Regions from separate parts of the Homo sapiens genome. Here region 1 is linked to region 2. The links are contacts of gene promoters, found by promoter capture Hi-C in blood cells and fetal thymus (Javierre and others, 2016). All regions are on one chromosome and are shown on one strand. The core of a region is centred on a gene start or on the middle of the fragment in contact, and the rest is flanking DNA. Distances in the headings are between cores, read along the strand shown. Region 1 overlaps ATF6 (activating transcription factor 6). Region 2 holds the start of OLFML2B (olfactomedin like 2B).

The links. The method cuts DNA at HindIII sites, captures the fragments that hold promoters and counts their contacts. A CHiCAGO score of 5 or more calls a contact.
Region 1: a fragment that was not itself captured here is called in contact with the fragment with the promoter of OLFML2B in region 2 in 6 of 17 cell types (naive CD8 T cells, total CD4 T cells, M0 macrophages and 3 more); the score reaches 7.8 in naive CD8 T cells.

What each region holds. Positions count from the first base shown.
Region 1 is chr1:161,879,844-161,886,272 of GRCh38, reverse strand. The region is part of intron 14 of ATF6 (activating transcription factor 6); the gene reads right to left. Among named protein-coding and RNA genes, the nearest start is that of ATF6, 120 kb to the right of the region's middle. The HindIII fragment of the contact is 5,424 bases long and covers 1-4,629 here.
Region 2 is chr1:162,019,149-162,025,368 of GRCh38, reverse strand. It overlaps OLFML2B (olfactomedin like 2B), which reads left to right and starts at 1,500. Exons shown (of 8, transcript NM_015441.3): 1 at 1,500-2,112; 2 at 5,187-5,450. The coding sequence starts at 1,939. RefSeq lists silencers at 876-1,170, 1,239-1,388. The HindIII fragment of the contact is 12,162 bases long and covers 1-6,220 here.

The DNA of each region.
Region 1 (6,429 bases), core at 668-3,167, 140 kb after region 2:
ATTTCTGTCTTCTACAGGTTAAGAACCAAACTTCATGATCTGGACCCTGCCATCTTTTATTTCCTAGAACTGACTACATTCCAACAATTCTCTCACTCATCCTGTGTGCTTACATATTCACCTCTCTGTCTGAAATGCCACACTGCCTCATCTTCCTCCTACTCTCTACCCTACTCATCCTTCTATAACCAACTCTCTTGTTTTCTGAAAAATTTGATACTACCTCCTCCTTCCTTGATGAATGTAGTGCTCTTGGCACAAGTAAAATAGTGTAATGATATCTACCTCATAAAGCTGTTGAAAGGATTAAATGAAATGACTTCTATAAAACAGCTAGGACACTAAATGCTTCAAACATACTAGTTTTATTTATAATCTCAGTATTCTGCAGGATGTCTCTTTTATAGTTCCTATCCCAGTATGAAATTTTGGATTTACAAGTCACTTTTCTCTACAATAATAAATTCCTTGAGAACAAGGATTTTAGCTTATTTGTCTTTATACCGTCTATGGTAGCACAGTGCCTGGTAACAGTAAGTGTTCAATGAACATCTACTGAATGAATAAACAATGAAGCAAAACAGAATAAAATTTTATCAGACAGAAGCCGACTAGCAAAAGAGATGGGACTTTCAAGCAACTTATCTTTTTCTTTTTTCCTCTGAAAAAAATGTTGAATTATATTATATTATATAAAAACCCATTTTGGAAATCTAACAGGAATCTTCTGGGCTTTATACAGGAAAGGTAGGAAATATATTTCTTTTTTCCTCCCATCAATAGCATACAGCTTCACATTCTGCTTTTGACTGTGGTAACATGCCAGAATTCTACTAGTTACAGTATTACTTAGTTCTAAAAAACAGGCCTCACTTAAATAACTGGAGTTCATCTGTAGAACAGTAGTTACGCAGTACTACATGTTTGTGCAAAAGGAACATACTGGGGAGTACTAGAGAGGTACACACAAGGAATGGGGTGATGCTGGCTCTGACTCATGCTCCTACTGTTTATTTATAGCTTCTTATTAATATAGGATTTGTTTTATTTGGCAAAAATACAAGATTTCAACTGACTGAGAGAAGAAGATGTAAGAAAATGCCTAAGCATAAAACTTCTACAGCTGAATAATAATCTGTAGCTCAGTGCTGTATCAACAGGCTCCCCAGGGGATGGTGCAAACTGAAACCACTCCAGAATTACAAATTTCATGAGCTGCAGACTTTACTGCTAAAAGTAAAGTAGTGGTTAACCAAAGATTTTATTCCTCTATAGACACCTCCATTTATAAATGCTAAATTCACTAGTTGGAATTAGATTTTTAGAGTAGTGTACAAAATATTTACGATGAGTTCCTAATTACTTTAAATAATTTTCGCCAGCAACAAACAGTCAAAAGCAAATTTAAAAAGAGAAGCCAAAGAATTTATATGCTTAAAATGGAAACATTTCTCAATGTTAATTTAAAATGACTACCTGCCTTCTTACTCTGATTTTGCTTTTCAACACTTAAACCAATATTTTATTATATATGTATCTGTGTATTTGTTTAGCATCTGACTCTAGAATGTGGGCTCTGGAAAAGCAAGGGCTTGTTTGCTTTGCTCATTGCTGGAGTCCTTGTAGTGTTAACAGCCAGGAACGTAATGGCTATTCAGTAAATATCTCGCTGGACTAATGACAGAAAATTATTGAATTTCTTAATCCAATTCTTTGAGGATAATTACAGTTAGAAGAGCTTTTTTAAAAAAAAAACTATAAAAGTAAGGTAATTATTCAGATAGTCACACTTAGTATGAATAAAGTTGTTTTGGATAATAAAATCAATTCCTAAAAGGTTTGAGGAAGAAAACTTTTAAGCTCTAAAGTTATTTCACATTTATGTTTTCTTTAAAGATCAACAAACGCTATTCATTTAAAAAATTTTAACGTTTTTGTATTTATCACTACCGTTCATCTTCTTAAAGCAGAGGTGTTTGTTTCAAAATGAAAGTAAGATTCACATTTTGGTAGATGAAAAATATGCCTTCCTAGTTTTATATTTTAAAATCAGGTCAACTGCACAAAACTGCAGTAAAATAAAAATAAAAACAATTTAATCTGGACTTTTTGGTTCTAGTAAGTATTTTACCTAAGGAGACACTATATTCTCCCTAATCTAAGCTGAATACAAAATTGGTCAAATAATCCTAGGAGGAGAATGGCTTTCAAATAACCAGCAACCATATATGCACAGAAATTCTGTTGACCATTTCTCTTTGCATGATAGAGTATTATACATACATATTTTAATGAAAAATAAGATAAACTTTTAAAAGCTGACCCAAAAGCCTCAGACCTAAGTGACATTGCTTCATCAGAATAGACCTGAACTATTTTATAATCTGAATTCAAATTATCTTAATTTCCTTATGTTTTTAACAACCTGTGGATTCCTATTATATATAAAAATGTCAAGGTGACAGGCTTCATCTGAAAATGAGAAATAATGCATAGCGACCTTATGCAATTACATCTATTAACAATTACAGAACCTATGCTGATAGAATTTTTTAATCTATATGATTTTATATATGTGTGTGTTTTAATGCTTCTAAGATAACACTAAAGACTGCTTTTATGCTACAAGTGAAAATAATGTTTATTATATCTTGTGAATGAACCCATGACATAGTCATGTGGCTCCTATCTAATATCAATATGAAAATGTCAGATTAAAGGCTAGTTTCTTTACAATTATCAATTGATGTCACTAAATCCATCCAAATGAATGTGATGTAGTCAATCTGAATAAACCCTAAAAACAGCTGAAAACCTGGTGTCTGCTGTTACTCAGTTTTCTGACTGTAATCTAAGTCTGTAGTTCTATAGACATCACATGAAATGAGCACTGAATTAGAATCAATACAGGAAATATTTAAAAGAACTCAAAAGTCACTTTTGCTAAAGATTATTAGAAGAGATTATATAGACTATTGAGAGAGATTCTAGCTATCTTTCTGTTTGGAAGAGCTCTTCCTTTCAAGTTTCTGATTCTCTTTCCCCACAAAATGGAAAAAGGGTAAGTCTAAATTATCTAAATCTAACCTTCATAAATAAACCCAGTTAGATAATGGATGGTAGTGTAATGATACCATGTAATACTCTTGCAGTTTTAACACTCTTTCGAAACATGCCAATTTTCTGTCTGTTTATGGGTGATAAGGAAAATAATAGCATTAAAATGAATTTTTCTGGGGAGTTGGGGGAAAGAATGAATTTGCTAAATCTAATGAAAACAAACTCCTCTCCCCTTGTCATATCCTTTTATGGGTTCTTTCTATGTACCCATATGCTTCCAAGGTCAATCCCCTGATGATAAAGAAGTATACATATCTTGAATACCTATTATGTGTTAAGCACTGTGCCAGTACTTAACTTATTATTTCATTTAAACCTCTCAACAACCCAGGAAGAGGTAACTATTAATATTACTATATTAGAGATAAGGACACTGAAAATTAAAACCGAGATTTGTCTGACTCCAAAGCCCATGCTACCTGATTTTCTACAAAAAAAAAAAAGCTGTATCGACCCCCACTAAAACTTAATTTCTCCACGAAACTAAAAAGTAATGACTCACAGCTAAATGGAAAAACTATTTTTCTTATTTCTGAATAAGACTGCACAATACTACAGCATAAACTATTCCTGTGCTGTTTTTATATTATCTAAGCCAATGCATAGAGTATGTATATGTGTATACATGCATAATATATATAGTTTTAAAAGATTCACTCTAGAGTCTGATTCTGAAGCTCTTTTTCAAATTAAGGAAAACAAACTACTAATAGATTAGCCCAGAAGTAGCAGCTTTTCTTATAAGAGGCTTATTTTTAGTTCTTTGTTCACTTTTCAGTGTATTTCCTAGCACTGTGACCCATACAGGCACATATTATGTGTTTGTCTCATCTGGTCTCCAGAATTTTGGTTTGGCAATATCTTCTGCTACCCATTACACTTTTGTTATAATTATCTACAGTATATGTTATGTTTCCAAAGAGTATATAAATAACATTTCATTGGTTAAGTATAAAGACTGGAAATTTGAGGTTGAAGAAGTTCAATCATAGGATACTGTTTTAAGAAGTTCCAGCAAAATGTGCAACCTAACAAAGTCAAGGATAACACAAAGAAAACTAACAGTCTGGTATAACCTATTTAACTTGGCTTTGCTTTAATTCTTCCTTTAAAAGCTATTAGGTGAAAACACAGCATTGAATATCATACAATACTGGATATCCACACACACAAAATGAACTTTGATATACACCTTGCACATATACAGAAATTAATTCAAAATGGATCATACACCTAAATGTAAAACCTAAAATTGTAAGACTTTAAGAAAAAAAATATGAGAAAATATTTGTGACCTTTAGTTAGGCAAATATTTCTTAAAACCATAAAAACACAGTCCATAAAATAAAAAGCTGACATATTGGACTTCATCAAAATTAAGAATTTCTGCCCTTTGAAAAACACTAAAAAGGAAATTTAAATACAAGCAAAAAACTGGGAGAAAATATTTACAAGTCATGTATTTGATAAAGGACTTGTATATAGAATACATAAAGAACTCGCAAAGCTTCCAGATTGCTGAACATGAGGAGGTGCCTGGAAGGTAGCCTACTTGGAGAGGGTATGGAAGCTCCATACCCCTTCCACATAGCTTGCCCTATGCATCTCTTCCATCGGGCTATTCATCTGTATCCTTTGTTAATCATAATAAACCAGTAAACATAAACACTTCCATGCTGGCTTTCATGAAGCAAGTTGTCATGTTGTGAGCTGCCATATCAAGAGGCCCATGTGGCAGGAACTGAGGGGAATCTCCAACTGAGCAAATAACTGAGACCCTTAGTTCGGCATCCCACGAGGAGCTGAATTCTACCAACAATCATGTGAACTTATGAGTGGAACCTTCCCCAGTAAAACCTTGAGATGCAACTGCAGCCCTGGCCAAGACTGTGATTGTTACTTTCAGATGAAACCCTGGAGTAGAAGACCCAGCAAATCTATGCCTGGACTCCTGACCCATAGTAACTGTGAGATAATAAATGTGTGTGTTCTAAGCTGCTAAACAAAACAACACACACACAAAATCCTCAAAATGAAATCTCAATCATTAGAAAATAACTCAATAAAAAATCGGGAAAGATTTGAACAGACCCTTCACCAAAGAAGATTTATGGATGGCAAATAAGCACATAAAAAGTTGGTCAAAATTAATATAGTTATTAGGGAAATGCAAATTAAAACCACAATGAGATACCACTACATACCTCTATTAGAATGGCTAAAAATAAAAAGATAGGCTGTATCAAGTGTTGCCAAGGATATGGAGGCACTGCAACTCTTATTCCCACTGGTGGGAATGTAAAATGGTACAACCACTTGTACCAAAGTAGTTTGGTAGTTTCTTAAAAAGCTAAACATATGCCTACTATATAACCCAGCCATCCCACTCCTAGGTATTTACACAAGGGAAGTGAGTGCATTTGTCCCTACAAAGACTTGTACACAAATAGTCACAGTTGCTTTGTTTGTAGTAGCTAACAGTAGAAGGTGAATATATTAGTAAATTGTGCTATATCCCTACACCAGAATATTAGCAGTAAAGACGAACTACTGATACAAGCAACACCATGGATTAATCTCAAAATAATTCTGCTGGAAGGAAAATATATATAATTAAGATCCCTTTATATACAATTTTTAAAACTATAAACTAATTTGTAGTAACAGAAAGATCAGTTGACTGGTGAGAGGGCAGGGAAAAATTACAAAGGGGCATGAGAAACAAAACTTTTGGGACTGATGGGGATGCTGATTATTTTGACTATGGTGATGATTTCACCTATATAAGTATATACATATATACACACACACACACACACACACATACATATCACACATAAAATGTGGTGTTAAATATGTGCAGTTTATTATATGTCAATTATACCTCAATAAAGCTATTAAAAAATGAATCTTCACCTTAAAAGAACACACATGACATTGCATGGCACATAAAATTTCACTATCAATTTTAATTTTGAAACTATGTTAAATAATAAATCTTTGCTTCATATAACAGAAAATTAGATTCAAACCAGCCACTCAAGACAGAAATCTGAACACAAGGATTTTATTTTTGTATAAAGACAATTAGTCTTCCAAGTGGTATAGTTCCCTGATTGCTATAAAGGGCAGCTCCTCAGAAAGTAATAAGGGCAGATACCCAAGATAAGCACTAAATGTTCAAATATTCCTGATTGTGGCAGCACAAAATTAAAGTTTATTTATTTTGAAAATGATGAATGACATGCCAAATGAAAACAAAATGGCATTATTAAGTTGCATCTAGCTGCCAACAGCTAGAACTGAAGA
Region 2 (6,220 bases), core at 251-2,750:
ACACTTTATCGGTGGGGCACAGTGGCTCACCCCTGTAATCCCAGTGCTTTGGGAGGGCAAGGCGGATGGATGGCTTGAGGCCAGGAGGTCGAGACCAGCCTGGCAACACGGCGAAACCCCAACTCTAGTAAAAATACAAAAAATTAAACGGGCATGGTGGCGTGCGCCTGTAATCCCAGGTACTCTGAAGGTCGAGGCACGAGAATCACTTGAACCCAGGAGGCGGAGGTTGCAGTGAGCCAAGATCATCCCGCCACTGCACTCCAGCCTGGGTGGCAGAGCAAGACTCTGTCTCAAACAAACAATCAAATACACCACATTTTATCAATGTTTACCCCCATATAGTTTCAGAAAAGATTTGATAGCTTACACAGAGGAGGGTGTGTGCATGATGTCCCCACAAACCTAGACACCCAGAGCATTGAATTTTTGTCCATAAACTGAATTTTTTGAAGATTAAAATATACTAATAAGGGTTATTATTATACTTATGTCAACTATTACTTATATGCGCTAGTTTCCTTAGTTTATTACAACCCTTATTCCTCAGCATAAGAAGCAAGGTGTTTGAATTTCCCAAGGGTGCATAATATCCTTTGAAGGGGCCTGGCTCTGTTCAATATTCCGAGTGACAGTTGTCCAGGATGGCACAGTGCCCTTCCTTAAATTCACATATTGGTAATCTTCACTGTAGGTTTATAAAAGGTTGTCCTCAGTAATTGAGGGACATAGTAACATAATTGCACACTATTGAAAGTGGACTCCCTCTTAGAGATAATCTGGTAACAGAGACCCGGAGATTTGTCCCAAACCAGGAAGACAGGAAGAGCTGTTCCCTTTGGTAATCATTTATCAGGCAGTAGCTTTCCCCATGGGGACTCGCGGAGAGTGTCGGAGATGTACAGTCATTCCCCTAACTTTCAACGTTTACACAACTCAGGACACACTCTAGGAAGGAATTCAATGATTTTCCTCTGGGTGGAGGTATTACTAGGTTCTAAAGCCGTGGCAGGCAAGCAGCTACCAACGGCGCTAAGTTCAAAGCTGCCCGAGAACTCGCCCAGAGTTAAGTCAGGGAAAAGAAACGCCTGGGAACAAACGCGCCTTCTCCCCTGCCCCAGGTGTGCTAAAGGACGATGCCGCAGATCCCTAACTAGCTCAGCCTTGGAGCGAGCGCTGGGTGCCTGCGATGGAAAGTCGCTCTTCTCGCCAAGAATGGTCGAACCCCAAAACTTCAGGGACGCCGCTCGGAGTAACTTCTCTTCACTCACTTGCGATCAGATGAGAAGAAAGTAAAGCCCTTCCAACGTCACCCTCAGCCGGCGCGCGGCAGCTGAGTCCCAGCGGGGACGGGGTCCGCCGGGTACCCCTCCGCCCGAGCCCTGTGCGCTTCCAGGTCCTCCTCCTCCGCGCGGTCACTGGCTGCATCTCCGCCGCCCCGGCACAATAGAGGCTCCGCCCTCCTTCCGCGCGAGCTCTCCGCGGCTCCCTAGCCCAGCAGCCCTCGCCCAGCAGCCCGCGCCGCCACCGCCTCTTCCCTCCCCGTGTCCGGTCCCCGTGCGTCCCGAGGCTCCCCGCCGCCCGTCCCGGCGCGCACCGCGGGCGTCTGTCCGAACGCCTTCCAGCCACCTGAGCCCTCCTGCGGGCGACTCGCTCAGCTAGCCCGTGCCCGCCTCCACCTTCTCCGTCATCCCCTCTTCCTTGCGTCCGGCTCTCCACTGGGGCTGCACAGTCGAGGGCTGCTCGCGTCGGGAAGGAGATGCCCAGAGTCTCTGGGGCGCACCCTCCCGTCCCGCTCAGCCGCACCCAGCTTTAGAAGGTGCTCTCAGCAGCCACTTTCGGGCTCTAGCGAGGACACCCTCTCGCAGAAGTCCTTGCCGAGACCCCCCGCCCCAGCCATTCTCTGAAGGGGCTGAGGACACTCTTATCGCGCCCCTCATGGCCAAGCCTCGGCTGCTAGTTCTCTACTTCGCTCTGATTGTGGTTCCGGCCTGGGTGTCCAGCATTGTCCTCACAGGGACAAGCGAGCCCCCAGATGCGCAGACAGTGGCGCCTGCGGAGGACGAGACTCTGCAAAACGAGGCGGACAACCAGGAGAACGTTTTATCTCAGGTAGGATGCAGAGTGCCACGACCGCCCTTCTTGCCCTGGATGGTGGTGAGAGCCAGAAGCTGGTCCTTGCTGAAGTGTTTGAGGGCAGCTGTTTTTCCTTCCATTACCAATGGAAAGGGCTTTTGATTTTTCATGTATCGGAATATTTTCTTAATGGAAGGATATAGGTTCTCCTCGCAAAATCATAGGGTGCTTAAAGGTCATCAAATCAGGAGAAAGGAGAGGTGAAGGAAGGGAAGATGCCGCTCGACTTCTTGAGAAGAAAGAAAACAAAGTTGTTTTTGGTTTCAGGGTTGTAAAAAGTATCTCTTGTCTATGTGGCTGTCTGTCAGAATTGGAATGTGAAAACAGCCGGATATGTTGACCAGGAGGCAGATGGCATATCCCATCGGGAGATACTTTATGGCAGAGGGTGGGACACCAGGCGGGAGCATGGGGTGAAGTCAGAACAGAAGCATGTGTGATGAATGTGAGGTGACCCCCAAACAGAGAGACTGAGAACATGACGGAGTGTACTGGGAGGGGAGAGTGGGAATGCAGATGCAGGCAGCTAGGGCAGACTGTCAGTGGGGGCCCGAGTAACCCATGATAGTGATGGGCTTCGTAAAGTGTCCGTTTACCAAGTACTTAAACTTGTTTTTTCTGACTCAATCTTCAAAACACCCTAATACCCATTTATAGATAAAGACCATAAGAGATACATGGGTAGGCCGGGCGCGGTGGCTCACGCCTGTAATCCCAGCACTTTGGGAGGCCGAGGCGGGCAGATCACGAGGTCAGGAGTTCAAGAGCAGCCTGGCCAATATGATGAAACCCCATCTCTACTAAAAATACCAAAATTAGCCAGGCGTGGTGGCAGGCACCTGTAGTCCCAGCTACTCAGGAGGCTGAGGCAGGAGAATCGCTTGAACCCGGGAGGTGGAGGTTGCAGTAAGCGGAGATCGCGCCACTGCACTCCATCCTGAGTGACAGAGTGAGACTCCGTCTCAAAAAAAAAAAAAAAAAAAAAAAAGAAGAGATACATGGGTAGAGCCAGGGCGTCTGACAGTCTTCAGCCCAGATCTCATGTCTGTAAGGGGTAGTTCTCTCTGGAGTGTTTATTTTGTGCTCTCCAGAGCCGGCATGATGACGTGTGGTGGGTGTCACCAGAATCCTCAGAATGGGGGATGTCTGAAAAAGGATCCTCCAGGGCTGCCTGTACCTTCACCTCCACCAAGCCCTAGGACTGGGCCTTGTCTCCTTCCTGTAGAGAGAATAATCAGCTGCACTTTGGGATTTATCAAACACTAGCCTCCTCACTCTTCCTTTAATAATGATGCTAATGTATGCCCTCTGCCCCCCCATTACCTCCCACTGACCCCTAAATCGAAAAGACATAAAAATCTCTCACACTGGGGCTCTGGAACACTATCAACAAAAACTTTCCTGAAACCCGAGCCTCCTGTAAGGAAGGAATCCACCCAGGGTTCTCAGAGCAGGGTTATGTAGGAATCCAGGCAGAGTTTCAGAGAGCAGACAGCCACAATTTACTATCAGCCCGTAAAGAACAGCCGCTTAAGTCACCCTTAACTACACCACCTTCTTCCACTGATCCATTCTGTGTTTGACAACAGCCCTAAAGCAAATATTAGTATTAGAAGAAACCCAATCTTTGCAAGGAAAACATTACAAGTCTTCTTCCCCCAGACAGCATCCCAAGGAACATTTCTACTCAAACAAGCTCAATGCTTGCCCACTGAAATCATTAATCAAATGAAGGGAACCCTTCTGCCTGCCTAGGAAGGGAGCCCTGGCTTTGGGGATGTAGGGCCTTTTGGAGAGGATTGGGAGAGAAGAGCCTTTTCCCAGCAAGCGCCCAGAGTTGGGGCTCCAGAAAGCCTACTGTCGCGTGTTTTCCTGCCTGGGGAGGCTGGCAGGGGCAAGTGCCCAGAAGGAAATGTTTAGCATTGCAAAAGCAGCAAGTGCTGCCAGTTTGCTTTCCTGGGTTTGGCCTGGGGTTTAGGTTCAGAAGCATGAACTCTTAGACTGAGTAAACCTTACTAACTTCTGGACCTGCCTCTTTCCTCTCAATTCCCTTTCTCCACATCTAACCCATCCTTCAAGGCCCAGATTAAATGCCACTCCTCGAAGAAGTCTTCCCTGGCTTCCAGTTGGAGCCGCTCTTAGCTCCCACTGCCCTTTCCCTCTGCCTCTTCGGGGGCACTTATCACTCTGTACTCTGTGTGACTGCTATTTCTATGCCTCCTGCACTGTAGGCTTCTTGAGAGCAGGCTCTCCATCTGGCCCATCTCTTTATCCTTCACAGCACCTCACAGTCCTTAGTAGGCACTCCATAAATGTTGAATAAATGAATGAGAGATGCCAGTAGTCTTCAAACTTGAATACCAACTTTTCAATCTCTCCAATTTCTTCTTTTCCTTTTTACACTTAAACCTGGATTCTGATTGGGTGCGGTGTCTCACGCCTGTAATCCCAGCACTTTGGGAGGCCGGGGCAGGTGGATCACTTAGGGTCAGGAGTTCAAGACCAGCCTGGCAAACATGGTGAAACTGAAAATACAAAATTAGCTGGGCATGGTAGCATGTGCCTATAATCCCAGCTACTTGGAAGGCTGAGGCAGGAGAATCACTTGAACCTGGGAGGTGGAGGTTGCAGTGAGCTGAGATCATGCCACTGCACTCCAGTCTGGGCAACAGAGTGAGACTCTGTCTCAAAAAAAAAAAAGAAAAAGAAAGAAAGAAAAGAAAGCCTAAACCTGGATTGTAGCAGAAGGCAAAGGCTATTGGACAAATGACTTGGCTCATCTGGTTTTTCCTTTAAATAATGAAAGGCTAAGGCCCCATGAGAAAGGCACAGCTTTCCAAGACAAACGAAGAGAGCTGAACTCTGAATGCCTTCAAGGAAATGTCAGAGTCAGCAAACTGCATCTCAGTGACCTATTGGCTCTGTGGTTCAGAGTTTTCTGAGGTCTCTGACTAGTGCAGGACATTTGACTAAGTAAATGGAGAGCCTCCTTCTGGAGGCTGACTGACACCTGTGTTTGCATGCCCCTAACCCGTTTTCTGTGTGTCTAGTTGCTGGGGGACTATGACAAGGTCAAGGCTATGTCTGAGGGCTCGGACTGTCAGTGCAAGTGTGTGGTGAGACCCCTGGGCCGGGATGCCTGCCAGAGGATCAATGCGGGGGCCTCCAGGAAGGAAGACTTCTATACCGTGGAAACCATCACCTCAGGCTCGTCGTGCAAGTGTGCCTGTGTAGCACCCCCATCGGCCCTCAATCCCTGCGAGGGAGACTTCAGGCTCCAGAAGCTGCGGGAGGCAGACAGCCAGGACTTGAAGGTAGGACCTGGTATGGGGCAATGCCTTGGACGAGAGGGCACTTTTGAGATCCACAAGTCTGGTAAGGCCATGGTTGAAGATTCTAAGCCCTTTGAAGAAGGTCAGGCCTGTTCCCTAGAGTGCTGTGTGTGGATCAAGGTTGATGTCCTAGCAAACTTGTCCTTTTCAGCTCTGGTGTATAAGGGAGATGCTTAAAGCAAAGTGTGCCTACCCCTCCTTATGGAGCCAGAGAGGCTGGGCCTGGGAGCAGCTGCCAGGCCCAGCTGGCCAAAAGAACTCAGCGTTCTTCAAGAAAATTGCTGCCACAATTTACTATCAGCCTAGCACACACCCCAAAGAGGCAAAAGAAAAATGCGAGTAAGGCTTTGGCCCTTAGCACAAGGGCTGGGTTGGCCTAGGGAAGGAGAGGCCGGGGGCCTGCTCTAGATTGGGTCATCAAACTGTGATCCTATAATGGTCCTTAGGGTAGGGAAGCTCAGGCCCCACTTAGGCAGCCCCATGGGTTGGCTGAGGGCTTCTGATCCTGCACCCCCTCTTCCCTTGCAGCGTGGGGTAGTGGAACAAGCTGGGTTTTGGAGTCAGACAGACTTGGGTTCAAATCATAGCAGTGTGATCCCACTTAAGTTATTTAACTTGTCTGCCTTCCAGCTCCTTGAATAACATGTGGTAATAATAACATCTACTTGGTGGAGTAATGAGATAACAACTAGGAGGTACTTGGCACGATACCAGACATTCAGCTAGGCATGACCATGTAAATGAATGAATGG